Linked DNA regions of Homo sapiens: regions 2, 3 and 4 are each linked to region 1. Evidence: promoter capture Hi-C in human tissues and cell types (Jung and others, 2019). All regions are on one chromosome and are shown on one strand. Each heading gives the region's core, a stretch centred on a gene start or on the middle of the fragment in contact. The rest is flanking DNA. Distances are from core to core; before and after follow the strand shown. Region 1 holds the start of SERPIND1 (serpin family D member 1). Region 2 overlaps MED15 (mediator complex subunit 15). Region 3 overlaps MED15 (mediator complex subunit 15). Region 4 has its middle 120 kb from the start of MED15.

The links. The method cuts DNA at HindIII sites, captures the fragments that hold promoters and counts their contacts. A contact is called where the count stands out against the background at its distance.
Region 2: a contact is called between a fragment that was not itself captured here and the fragment with the promoter of SERPIND1 in region 1, in 1 of the 25 tissues and cell types used here (stomach).
Region 3: a fragment that was not itself captured here is called in contact with the fragment with the promoter of SERPIND1 in region 1 in 2 of the 25 tissues and cell types used here (dorsolateral prefrontal cortex and lymphoblastoid cells).
Region 4: a fragment that was not itself captured here is called in contact with the fragment with the promoter of SERPIND1 in region 1 in 2 of the 25 tissues and cell types used here (IMR-90 fibroblasts and lymphoblastoid cells).

The regions. Positions count from the first base shown.
Region 1 is chr22:20,772,585-20,775,701 of GRCh38, reverse strand. SERPIND1 (serpin family D member 1) reads right to left here and starts at 1,589. Exons shown (of 5, transcript NM_000185.4): 1 at 1,557-1,589. The region is part of intron 19 of PI4KA (phosphatidylinositol 4-kinase alpha); the gene reads left to right. The HindIII fragment of the contact is 14,489 bases long and covers 71-3,117 here.
Region 2 is chr22:20,551,323-20,554,439 of GRCh38, reverse strand. It overlaps MED15 (mediator complex subunit 15), which reads right to left. Exons shown (of 18, transcript NM_001003891.3): 3 at 2,953-3,004; 4 at 1,266-1,295. Among named protein-coding and RNA genes, the nearest start is that of MED15, 45 kb to the right of the region's middle. RefSeq lists enhancers at 128-297, 3,045-3,117. The HindIII fragment of the contact is 5,082 bases long and covers 1-3,117 here.
Region 3 is chr22:20,576,470-20,579,586 of GRCh38, reverse strand. The region is part of intron 9 of MED15 (mediator complex subunit 15); the gene reads right to left. Among named protein-coding and RNA genes, the nearest start is that of MED15, 70 kb to the right of the region's middle. The HindIII fragment of the contact is 7,226 bases long and covers 1-3,117 here.
Region 4 is chr22:20,624,818-20,627,934 of GRCh38, reverse strand. It overlaps the pseudogene SMPD4P1. Among named protein-coding and RNA genes, the nearest start is that of MED15, 120 kb to the right of the region's middle. The HindIII fragment of the contact is 4,060 bases long and covers 1-3,117 here.

The sequences.
Region 1 (3,117 bases), core at 340-2,839:
CTGGAGCAACATAGCAAGACCTCATCTCTATTTTAAAAAAGAAAGCCAAAAGAAGAAGGAACAAAGGGGGAAAATGTTTTCTTCTCAGATAAAAATAAGGTTAAAGAACAAAACAAAAACCAACTTGAATAAATAAGCATTCAGGAAAACGTATCTGAGGCCAGATAGAGTGGCAGAGTAAAGACATGCATGTTTTATCCCGGTATTCAGAAGTTATATTTGGAAACTTCTTATACCCTGTTCCCACATTATCTGATAAAAAGCCAAAAATAGTTTTCGTCATTCCCTTACCAGAGGAAGGAGAAAATATCTCTGATATCTTTTATGGATTGAAATTAAAGATCTGAAGGTAAATCTTCCTGATGTTTTGCTATTTAGTATAACAAACATTGTAGAAGACGTTTAAAAACTATCACTAGGTTGTGATTAAATCCAGATTACTGTTTGAAGAGAAACAATATATTTTAAAGATAAATCATTCAAAAGTTTGTTTTGCTTTTTTTTTTTCCTGGGAACTTCATATTGTGCTTTCTTGCTAATTGCCAGAGCTGGGTTGGCCTTTTCAGTCACGCATCAGAGCATAACACTTGATAAACCGTCATCCCTCCTGGTGTATGGTCTCCAGGCCCAACAGAGCAGGCAGAATGGGAGAGAAGTAACTGCCTAAAGTTTGGAAAACTTTTTATTTTGAAGTAAGTTCAAACTTCCAAAAATGTTGAAAGAATAGTGTAGTAGAACAACTCCTGTATACCCGTACCGAGATTTACCAGGTTTAAAATTTTGGAACCTTTGCCCTGTCATTATCTGTGTGTGTGTGTACGTACGTGTGTGTTCTCACAGGCATGCACATACACATTTTTTCTTCTAGACCATTTGAGAGTAGGTCTCCTATATCTTGTTCCTCTAACATTTTTTCTTTTTTCTTCTTTTTTTTTTTTTTTTTGACGGAGTCTAACTCTGTTGTCCAGGCTGGAGTGCAGTGGCACGATCTCCGCTCACTGCAACCTCTGCCTCCCGGGTTTAAGCGATTCTCCTGCCTCAGCCTCCTGAGTAGCTGGGATTACAGGCGCGTGCCACCACGCCCAGCTAATTTTTGTATTTTTAGTAGAGACTTGGCTTCACCATGTTGGTCAGGCTGGTCTTGAACTCCTGACCTCGTGATCCACCCGCCTCGGCCTCCCAAAGTGTTGGGATTACAGGCGTGAGCCACTGCACCCGGCCCCTCTAACCTTTAATACTAATACTTCAGGGAAAATACCCAAGAGCAAGGATATTCTCATACATAATCACAGGACAGTTATCCAATTCGATTAATTTAATATAAGTACAATATTTTCATCTATTCCACAGCTCCTATTCTAAGTTTGTCAACTCTCCCAACAATGGAACTGACACAATTTTATAATAGGCACACTGAAAAATGAAACCATTTCCCACTTCTAAAACAGTGTAGAAAGCTTCTGAATTCTTAGTTTGCTAGAAAAATGAACCAGTTGCCTATCCGTAAACACCAAAAATAATTTATAATCAGCAGAAACATTAGAAACCCAACTTACCTCTGTGTTTCTGAGAAGTGGCGCTTCAGAGATGAAAGCAGCCAAGGTCATCAGTGGGATTTTGATGTGAACTTTGGTGCTGGGCTGTTGCTGCATATTTTCCAAAGTAAATAAGTCCCAATCCAAACACCAGGCAACCAGCTTGGTCAGCACAAACCCCCTCAGCTGTGCCTTTGATAACTGTAGAGTGGCTTGCAGCTCCTCATCTCCAGTTCTTAGAGCTGACACTTTGAGTATATGACGGTTACTGTGTTAGCATGCACACATAGCCTTGGTGCAGGAGCAGCCCCTCTTGAGGTCACCACATAAACAAGGCGCTCTTCAGGCCTCTGGGGACCAGGCTGCATTGAGGGTAGCTGAAAGTAGAGACCATGCATCTGCCTCCAACTGTGTCCTCTCTTCTGGGATGATCACAGCATCTGCCCTCCACCTGCTCTCCAGGACTGATGTGGCTGGCTCAGCTACTAGGCGGGTGTCCCTGTCCTTCCAAGAGCTCGTTCCTCAGTGAAAGGTGGAGGAGAGAGGACAAAATTAGTGGCTTACAGAATAAGGGGATTGTGGCATGGACCTTTCTTCAGTCAAGGGTTGCTGTGTTTGTTGCCAGTAGGTGCAGCCCAGCACTCCTGTCTGTTGTGGGACAGATAGGACTATTACTGAGCAGTGCCTCCCAAATTCAGGGCCACTTAGGCATTCGTGGGGATCTCTGAGGCTGTGATACATTTTGTGTTTATGGGTGTTTGTTTGTTTGTTTGTTTGTTTTGAGACAGAGTTTCGCGCTGCTGCCCATGCTGGAGTGCAGTGGTGCGATCTCAGCTCACTGCAACCTCTGTCTCCCAAGTTCAAGCGTTCTCCTGCCTCAGCCTCCTGAGTGGCTGAGATTACAGGCGCACACCACCATGTCCAACTAATTTTTTGTATTTTTAGTAGAGACGGGGTTTCACTATGTTGGCCAGGCTGGTGTTGAACTCCTGGAGTGAAGTGATCCTCCCGTCTCGGCCTCCCAAAGTGCTGGGATTACATGCGTGAGCCACCACGCCTGGCCCTATGTGTTTTTTGAGACAGGGTCTCACTCTGTTACCCAGGCTGGAGTGCAGTGGCGTGATCTTGGCTCACTGCAGCCTCAACCTCCCGAGCTGAAGCAATCCTCCTCACCTCAGCCCTGCAAGTAGCTGGGAATACAGGTGCACACCACCATGTCTAGCTAACTTTTGACTTTTTTGTAGAGACAGGGTCTCACTATGTTGCCTAGGCTGGTCTTGAACTCTTGGGCTCAAGTGATCCTCCTGCTTCAGCCTTGCAAAGTGCTGGGATTACAGGCATGAGTCACTGTGCCCGGCCTTATGATAATTTGTTTTTTAATTTGTGTTTTAAATTTTATGATCTAAAAAGTTTTAAGAATATTCTGGATTGTCTGGAAGATCAGCTTATCACAGAGACTGCTCCTCAAGAGCATGTTTGGGAGTGTCGGCACCCAGAGTCTATCTGAAGAGAGAATGTGACTCCTAGGAGAATCTGCGGGTGTGCAAGGGGCCCATGGGGGTGTCTGTGCATTGCTCCGTTT
Region 2 (3,117 bases), core at 293-2,792, 220 kb after region 1:
CAGGGCCACCATGCCAGAACAGCTTAGGGGTGCAGAGGAGGGCTCCACAGAGCACTGAGGAGAAATGTCCCAAGCCCACCAGGTCAGCAGCTCAGTGAGCAATGCCACAACCAAGGACAAGGATGCCATTGTCACAACAGTGTGGACTTCACAGCAAACAGCTACCCACAGACAGGTATGTCCTGGCAGGACCGCCATGCCACACAACTGGGTGGTACCCAGGACCCCATGCTCCAATGCCAAGGGGCCCAGATGTTCTGGCCACATGCCCTTGCTGCCGCTCAGCCCCAGTTGGCCAAGAATCCCTGTCCTGGCTGAGAGGTGAGACCCACATGGGCAGAGACAGCTGGCATGTACAGCTCTACTGTCTAGGGCAGGGCAGACAGTGGCGTGCAGCCTGTGAGGTCAGTGCACTCCCTTCCCAATGGCAGAATGCAGTTGGCCAGCCTGGATCTGTTAAACCCCTTCCCTTGCAGCTTAGTCAGCAGAGACCAAGGCTGAATTGACAGAATTCCCCTCATGTGATAAACGCTGAAATTTAAAAATATGGATTTCTAAACTTTTTTTTTGAGATGGAGTCTCACTCAGTCATCCAGGTTGGAGTGCAGTGGCACGATCTCAACTCACTGCAACCTCAGCCTCCCAGGTTCAAGCGATTCTCATGCCTCAGCCTCCTGAGTAGTTGGGACTACAACGCATGCCACCACACCCGGCTATTTTTGTATTTTTAGTAGAGATGGGGTTTTACCATGTTGGCCAGGCTGGTCTTGAACTCCTGACCTCAACTGATCTGCCTGCCTCAGCCTCCCACAGTGTTGGGATTACAGGCATGAGCCACAGCACCCAGCCAGATTTCTAAATTTACAAAGAAACTTTGTAACTTAAAAAAGTGAATTCACAGCATTTTCTCAGAAATGCTACTACATATTATTACACTGAAAACAGCATAATAATTCTCTACCAGAGAGCTCAACACTTTTGGATAATGTCTTAATAGCTTTGTGAGTGTTTATCTTTTTGCTGGGCAAAGGCAGCATTTGTGTGAAACGGGATGGGGAGGATCATGCGACTTCACAGTCTGCAGGAAGACGAAGGCTGGAGAGGTCAGGGCACAGCTGGTCAGCCTCCTCCCTCCAGAGTTCTCTCCGCAAGCATTCTCCTCTAGTGACAGGTTAACCCAGGCACATGAGGCATGCACTATGTCATTCTTGCCACCTCAAATCCAAAGTTGGGAGAAACTTTAACTCAAAAGGGAAAACTCTTACCACTGACGGAAGCTTGAGATTTCTTGTTATCTATATGAAAACACAAACAAAAAAACGAAAGTAAACATAGTTTTATATAACCACATATTTCCATGGGTAGGTCAGTTCTGTAGGCATTTGCCCAAGCCTTAATCCCCACGGAGCTCCTAGTACTCCCCACTACTGGGGGAAGTGTTTCTACTCTTGGCAGCGCTGACCCCACAAGAGACCTGGGGGCAGAGGGTGCAGAGTAGCTCCAGGGTCAACCTGGGGCCTTAGGGAGCTGCCCCCAAGGCTGAAGCACTCTGGGGTTGGGGACCCTGGGCCTACTCTGGCTTTCCTTTTTCCCAGGTCCAGAGTCTCAGCTCAGCCCTGAGCAAACAAATAATAGAACACTACAGGAACCCACGGCGGGGCTGGAGTGGTGCCAAGACTTGACACTGCCTCCCTTTGCAGCCCACTCTGGTGAGGCAGTGTCTCTGTTACCTAGATGAGGAAACTGAGGCTGTCCACGGCCAGCTGGAAGCCAGTCCAGCTGACCCCAGTGCCCAGCGGAGAACTTCTGTAGCAGTCATGGGGCCCTGAGCCTCCTGCTCGGCTGCTTCCCATGACCTCATGAGCCCCACAGGACTGTGTGCACCAGCCAGGCCACTGTCCCTGAAAGCAGAACATGCGGAGTCTGCCAGCGCATCTGGGCCAGATCATCTGGGCTGCTCCTTCTCCTCTTACACATCCCAGTGACTTTCCAACACCACAGAGAGTGAGATCAGTGAAGTTCACTTTGCTGGCCATTCTGGTGAAAAGTTAGTGTGGAAAGAAGCAAAACCTACCAGGCTCTGGAGTGCTCAATGTCTCCCTTTGACCCAGCAACACACTGAAGGTACAGCTGCCTGTCCCTAACCCACAGGGGAATAGAAATAGGACTCGCCAGGCACATGCTCCAACGACAGGCCTGTGTCAAGAGAAGCCTGCCTCTGGTGGTTATGCAGCGGCAGTGGGCAGGAGCCATTGTTGGCTGAAAACACAGAGCAGCTGCTGGCCCCAGTTTCCTTCGCAGGCTGTGGCCATCCAGGAACACTTGGTGTCCACATACTTCCACGTAACACACACAAGCACGAAGACCCTGGCCCTAGGATGCAATGACAACTCATTTCTGTAGAGCTGGGGCCACTGCCTGGCTGACAGAACCACACTGGGCCCTCTGAATCAGAGGAGGCACAACGTGAGGTTAACACGGGGGCCCTCAGCACAGCAGGGAGCCAGGGTGCAGACTCAGGAGGTCCTCCTCAGAAGCTTCTAGTCTGGAGGGAAAATATGCCTAAGTGTCTCTGGCCTCCATGGGTCAATAAAATCAACTTTTAGGGAAGAGAGTTTCTGTTCCAGGGTAAACAGAACTTCCCAGAAGTAAAAACAACAGCCCTATGAAAAGGGAGATTAAGTGAGCAAGTGAAGCAGCAACCCGTTTAGACCACTTTGAGGACAGCATTTCCATGATGCTAGAATCAGCATTTTTGAGGCCAAGGCTCTGGGAGGATGGAGGGATCTGGAGTCAAATGCAAGGCAGTGAAGAACTTCCCAGAAGCAAGTGAGGTGACACAGACCTTCTGACTCAGGCACCACGGCCTGCCCAGAAAGCTCTGCCGAGGCAGCGTCAGGGCTGGCCTCTCACAGAGATCTCAACAACCCAGAAATGCAAAATCTTACTTACGAATGTCTCGAAAATGGATAATGAGCCTGGCCACGAGAGAAAGGTATTCGTCCTAAAAGTAAAAACAGGAAGCAGTTTAATACCAGATGAAGAAGCGCAGTCATCGGACTCCCCCTTCCCGCCCCCTCGCCTGCTGGCACCGAGCTGAAGCCCATCCTGCAAGGC
Region 3 (3,117 bases), core at 375-2,874, 200 kb after region 1:
ACAGAGGAACCCTCAGGCAAGGCTGGCGGCACTGCGCGATCCCCACCCCCGCCCCCACATACTGGGAACCGTTCCTTGCTCCTGGCTCCGGCACTCAGTGTGTCCCCTGGAGGCACTCCCCAGGGTGCAGTGGAACACGGGTCTCACCCTGGCAGCTGGCAGCCAGCAGAGCCCAGAGGATGGGAGGCAGGGAGATTTCTAGTGGGAAGAAAAACAAATGAAGGGCACCCATTCATTTCCAAGAGCACGAGAGCAGGAAGCCAGGCCCTGTGCCCAGGTGTCAGTGGTGGGCAGTCCAAGTCCAGCACCTGGGATGAGAAGCAGCCCCTGCAAAGACTCATCCAAAGACAGGCTCTAGGCTCTGGGGAGGCAGCCAGAGAGGCGAGAAAGAAACCTCCCAGTCCTTGGTCTCATGTCAGGTCTGGGATTGGAGCAGGGAACAGGGAGGCAACAGTGCCTCTCTAGTCAAAGGACAAGCCCCTAGTGAGAAAGACACTGCCTGCTTACATCTGCCAAGGGAGGATTGTGGCATGGGCCATGCCACCCCCTGGGCCCCCGTGCTGAGCACTGTGTCCAGAATGCACCCAGCACAGAATCCTGCTTGACCTGGTAGCCTGAGTCCGTGAGGCATGCCCACCGTAACAGGAAGATGCAGCCATGAGCCGTCAAGACAGAGGGAGGGAGCCTGGGCCCTGCCCTCTGGAGAAGAGCCCATGGGGCACGTACATTCCCTCTTTCAGCTCCACCTGTTTTCTTGGACCTAATTTGTTGCCACAAGGAAAGAGCAAGAGCAAATGGGCAGTGTAGTCTCCAGACTGTGTCCTGCTGACTGCTGAGGGCAAGTGGCTGGAGGGACAGTGGCCACAGAGTGGCCATCTGGACACACTGGAGACAGCAGGTTCTGGCCCCTGAGAGCTCAGATGGGACACAGTGGGGCAATTCCTGGTGAGATCAACAGATACGTTCCTGAGATAAGCTCTCTTTTTCTCGGAAGGGACTGGATTGAAAGATACTGACACAAAAGCAGAGGCACACCTCTGGAGCCACCTGGTGTGGTCAGGTGAATGCCCTTGGTACACGGGGCCCAGCATGCCTCACGTCCCCAAGGCTGGCCCACAGCCAGGTGTGGGAGACTGTACCAAGAGCCTGGTACTGCAGCCGGACGTAGAGGGCTGAGCTGGGGAGGGCCCTCTGCGGGGAAGGCCAGGACCAGAGAGGGCTGCAGAGCAGCTGCCTGGGCAGTAGGGAGGCTTCCACTCCAGGGTGTCCCTCTATTCGCTTTTCTCCCTCCCTCAACTCCTTCCAGTTTCCTTTCTTGCAGCTAACAAGCATGAACAAACCTGCTTTAAAAACACAGTACAAGGCTGGGCGCAGTGGTTCACACCTGTAATCTCAACAGTTTTGGAGACCGAGGCGGGCGGATCACCTAAGGTTAGGAGTTCAAGACCAGCCTGGCCAACATGGTGAAACCCCATCTCTACTAAAAATACAAAAATTAGCCAGATGTGGTGGCAGGCGCCTGTAGTCCCAGCTACTCGAGAGGCTGAGGCAGGAGAATCGCTTGAAGCTGGGAGGTGGAGGTTGCAGTGAGCCAGGAGTGCGCCATTGCACTCCTGCCTGGGGGACAAGTGCGAGACTCTGTCTCAAAAAAAGAAAAACAAACAGTAACAATGACAACAAAATAACAGAACAAAACCAGAACCTTGCCCCAGTTCTGTGCCTTCCTTCCTCTTTCCATAAATCCTGTGGCTTTTGTCTACTGCCGGGACGAGGAATACTTTCTAAATGCTGCCGCGTTTGTCCTCAGTGAACAACCCCAAAGGTTCAGGGGTGTGCCTCTCACTGCCAGTGCGAATGGGCGGGGCCTGGTGATTAAATCTGTGTGCAGTTAGCCAGCATCTTCCCATGAGAGCGCTCTCACCCCACACAGTGCAATGAGGACAAACCAGAATTCTCCATGGCATTTATTCCAAGGCAATAACTTTTTCAGCTTCATCATATATTTCTCTATCCTTCCTCTGCTCCACCTTACCTCCTTGCCTTTGGGGGTTGGAAGCTTCTAGAGAGAGAGAGACCTATTAGCTGGCATAACTCAGGGCAGACTTAATCTAAGGGCCAGGGAAGGCTGGGGAGGGAAAGACTGAGTGGGTTTGGGAACTGGTGGGAAGGAGGGAGGGAGGGAGGGAGGGGCTGCCTGTGAGAAGTCTAGGTGGAAACACCAGCAGCTGGGTGTGGGGAGTGGCCAGCCCACAACAGAGTATGGGCAAGCCAAAGCCCAGGACAGAGCCTGGTCTTGTGGGGGCATGGAGGGAGCCCACCCAGGAGTGCCCAGTAAACAAGAAGGAGAAGCCAGGTCATCAGCCCAGCAGGAAGGGGAGTGAGGAGTTTCCAGAAGAATCCTGCTGAGAGGCCAAGGCATAAGGGTTTCACTTGAGCCCTCGATCCTGACTTGGTGGCTCCCTGGGGGCACTCTTAGTCTGTAAAAGGGGCTAAATGCTCAAACTATGACCTGCTACAACAAGAAACAGTGAGGCTCTGTACACAAAGAGCTTAGCTCAAGGCCTGGCACATATCGCACACTGAAAACATTGGGGACTTTTTGTGTTTATAAAAATCAGTCCTACATGCTGCTACTAAAGTCATTCCTCCACATACAGCAACCCAACCTGATTCTGTGAACCCAGTGGATACTGTGCCAGAGGCTATGGGAAAGGAGGAGAAGCAGTTTTAGCAGACAAGAGTGCAGAACCCAAAGGGGTCTAGTCAAGGAGACACCAGCAGCATGTGAGCAGGTCGTGGAACTCACAGCCTCCAGGCCATGGGGAACTGCACCCTGGCTTCTGCCCACACTGGCCTCCTTTCCACCACAGCCACACAACCTAATTCCTGACCCCCAACTTCCGCTCCTCTGGAGAGCTCTTTCACCAAAGCCTTTCTACCAGCAGATTCCAGGCACTTCCTCCCGCTGTAATTCAACAACTACTAAAAAGGAAGTCCCTGCCAAAGAAACTAAGTTCCAGTCAGTAACTATGTGAATGGCACATCTGGGGTAACCCAGGGGGTTAGTATGCAGGGAAGGCAAAAGCTAAACATGCCCCAGTGGGGGCCCAGGCCACT
Region 4 (3,117 bases), core at 414-2,913, 150 kb after region 1:
GCCAAATCCAAGATCTTGAAAATGTAATTCCATGTTTTTTGTTTAGAGTTTAACAGTTTTAGTGTTTATACTTAGGGCTTTGACCTATTGTGACTTAATTTTTGTATATGGTGTGATGTAGGGGTCCAGCTTCATCCTTTTGCATGTGGATATCCAGTTCTCCCAGCACCATTCTTCAAAGAAATGAGTGTTTTCCCCACTGAATGGTCTTGTACCTAAGTTTTTACTCAGCTCGGTGAAAACGTGCTCTCACTGATGAGGCTGATAAGGTTTTGTCTTGAATTGGGACCTGGGAATAGTGCTGGTAATTTGGAGATGACATGAACATTTATTTGGGGCTACCCCAGTGCTCTCTGCTGGTTGAGCAACTGCGCCATCCAGCCAGTTGGAAGGTTTGTAATGAGGGAGCTGAATGAGACAGAGACGAGAAGAAAGGGCGAAAGTGGAAGAACTGCATCAAGAATTCAGGAGTGAAGAGGGAGCAATTCTCCTGAACATTCCATGAAATAATCTAAATAAAACCACCTAGTACCAAGCCTGCCCTGTAGGAGATGCTTGGTGATGTTCTGGTTGTCTTTGAGTCAAGATGGAGTCCATCTGGGTCGGAAAGATAAAATGACAATCTTGCTGAAGTTTTTCTCCATCCGAGGTGGAAGTGAGATTTCCCACTCATGCTCTCCAGCGCTTGGACTTGCTTTTGGGACCAGCTCTGATGAACCTGTGTACACTGAGTTGCAAGTGATGGACAATAGCTCAGACCAACAGTCCACAGGTGAGTTGCAAGTAACCCCAAGGTGTTAATGGCTGTTCCTTGGCAGAAAGAGTTCAATGTGTTTATGAAGCATCACATACCACATTCCCCTCCTGGGGACTGACAGTGTGTGTGGTGTATAGAGCAAGTCCTGGCATACAGCAAGTGCTGTACAAGCATTACCAAGGATTCAGTACCACAGACTTGGCTCTGAAGCTGGCCACTGTGGGCTGCATGCGAATGGTGTTTCTGTAAAATGTGGGAATTGCTGGCCGGGCGTGGTGGCTCACGCCTGTAATCCCAGTACTTTGGGAGGCTGAGGCAAGTAGATCACTTGAGCCCTGGAGCTGAAGACCAGCCTGGGCAACATGATGTAACCACATCTCTACAACAAATATAAAAATTAGCAGGGCCTGGTGGTGTGTGCCTGTAGTCCCAGCTATTTGGGAGGCTGAAGCAGGAGGATCGCTTGAGCTTAGGAGTCTGAGGTTGCAGTGAGCTATGATCATACCACTGCACTCCAGCCTGAGTGGGAAAGCAAGACCCTGTCTCTACAAATAAATAAAGAAGACATGAGAATCGATAATGTAATGCATGTTGAGTTACACAAATGTTCTCCTGGGCATTGTGAAACTATGTAATATTTTGTTAGGGCCAGGTGCAGTGGTTTACACCTGTAATCCCAGCACTTAAGAGGCCAAGGCAGGAGGGCCAGTGGAGGCCAGGAATTTGAAACTAGCCTGGGCAACATAGCGAGACCCTGTCTCTACAAAAAAGAAAATAAGAAGAAAATTAGCCAGGCATGGTGGTGTGTGCCTGTAGTTCCAGCTACTCAGGAGGCTCAGGGGGAAGGATTGCTTGAACCCAGGAGTTTGAGGTTGCAGTGAGCTATGATCGTGCTATTGCATTCTCTCCTGGGCAACAGAATGAGACCCTGTCTCTAGAAAAATAAAAAGATTCTGCTGTGCTGCAGATGTTGAGATTTTGTCTCTGTTTTTCCACAGTGGTTTGCTAAGAAGGCCATTTTCAACTCTCCACTGGAGGCTTTTATGGCGTTCCCTCACCTGCAGCGGCCCAGCTTTCTACTGGTAAATATCAGCTGTCTGGATGAGTGTCAGTGTGGCCACAGCTCTGTAGCTGTGGGACTTGAATGTTCTTCCCATTGACTTGAAGAATTCTCTAGTGGTTGTCTTTTAGGAGCGTGTGATGGAAGCAATGCCAGACTCCTTAAGCTTGACTGTGCCCCCTTATTACTACAGGGCCTTGGGGTTACTCAACCGCTGGGCTCTGGGCTCTGGGTTTTCCCATACAAGACAAATTCATTCAAGTTCTATTTTCTCTACTTCCCAAGGGGGTATGAGGAGGAGGAGGGGGAGGAGCAAATGAGAATGATGTACATCAGAGTGTTCATGATCTGTAAGTTCTTAAACAGACATGAAACATTCTGATAATCATAATTGTCATTAGTGAAAAATGGAGACACTCTTATGTTCTGAGGGGGTGCTAGGTTAGCACTTTAACTATTAAACATGGTGCTGAGAACTGGGTGTAATGGTCCGTATCTGTAGTTCTAACTACTAAGGACACCGAGGAAGGAGGATTACTTGAGCCCAGGAGTTTTAAGACCAGCCTGAGCAACACAGTAAGACTCAAAAAAAAAAAAAAGAAAAAATGATACTGAGAAGCGAGAAGTTAGGTATGAGCAAGTATTGGTGATGAAAGTTCCTAATTTTAGTTCTTAGGAGGTATTTTTGTAAATATGTATGTGGAAGGACGTTCCTCCCCAGGGCACCCCACTAGAGCCACCAGGTCTGCCACATGGCCAGACAACTCAGGTCTCCATCTCTTGTCTCAAATCCTGTGAAATCCACCCTCATTTGGAGGTAGACAAGGCATTTGGAGGTAGACAGATTCTAGCAGTTTCTCCTGATGTGAGTCCATTTGCACAGACGCTATTTTTATCCTTGTAGTCAGGATGCTTTCCGTATATCCCACGACTGTGGGTAGATTTTATTAGTCCTTGTCCTGAGTCTTTTCTGGCCTCTCCATTGCCTTTATGTTTAGTGTTTACTTGGTGCAAGCCATCTATAATTTTTACCTGCCTTGTGTGTGTGTGTGTGTGTTTTGTTGTTGTTGTTTTGCTTTGTTTTATTTTTTTTTTTTTTGAGACGGAGTTTCTCTCTGTCGCCCAGGCTGGAGTGCAGTGGTGCGATCTCAGTTCACTGCAACCTCTGCCTCTCAGGTTCAAGCGATTCTCCTGCCTCAGCCTCCAGAGTAGCTGGAATTACAGGCATGCACCACCAAGCCCGGCTAATTTTTTTGTGTTTTTTTAATAGAGACAAGGTTTCACCATTTTGGCCAGGCTA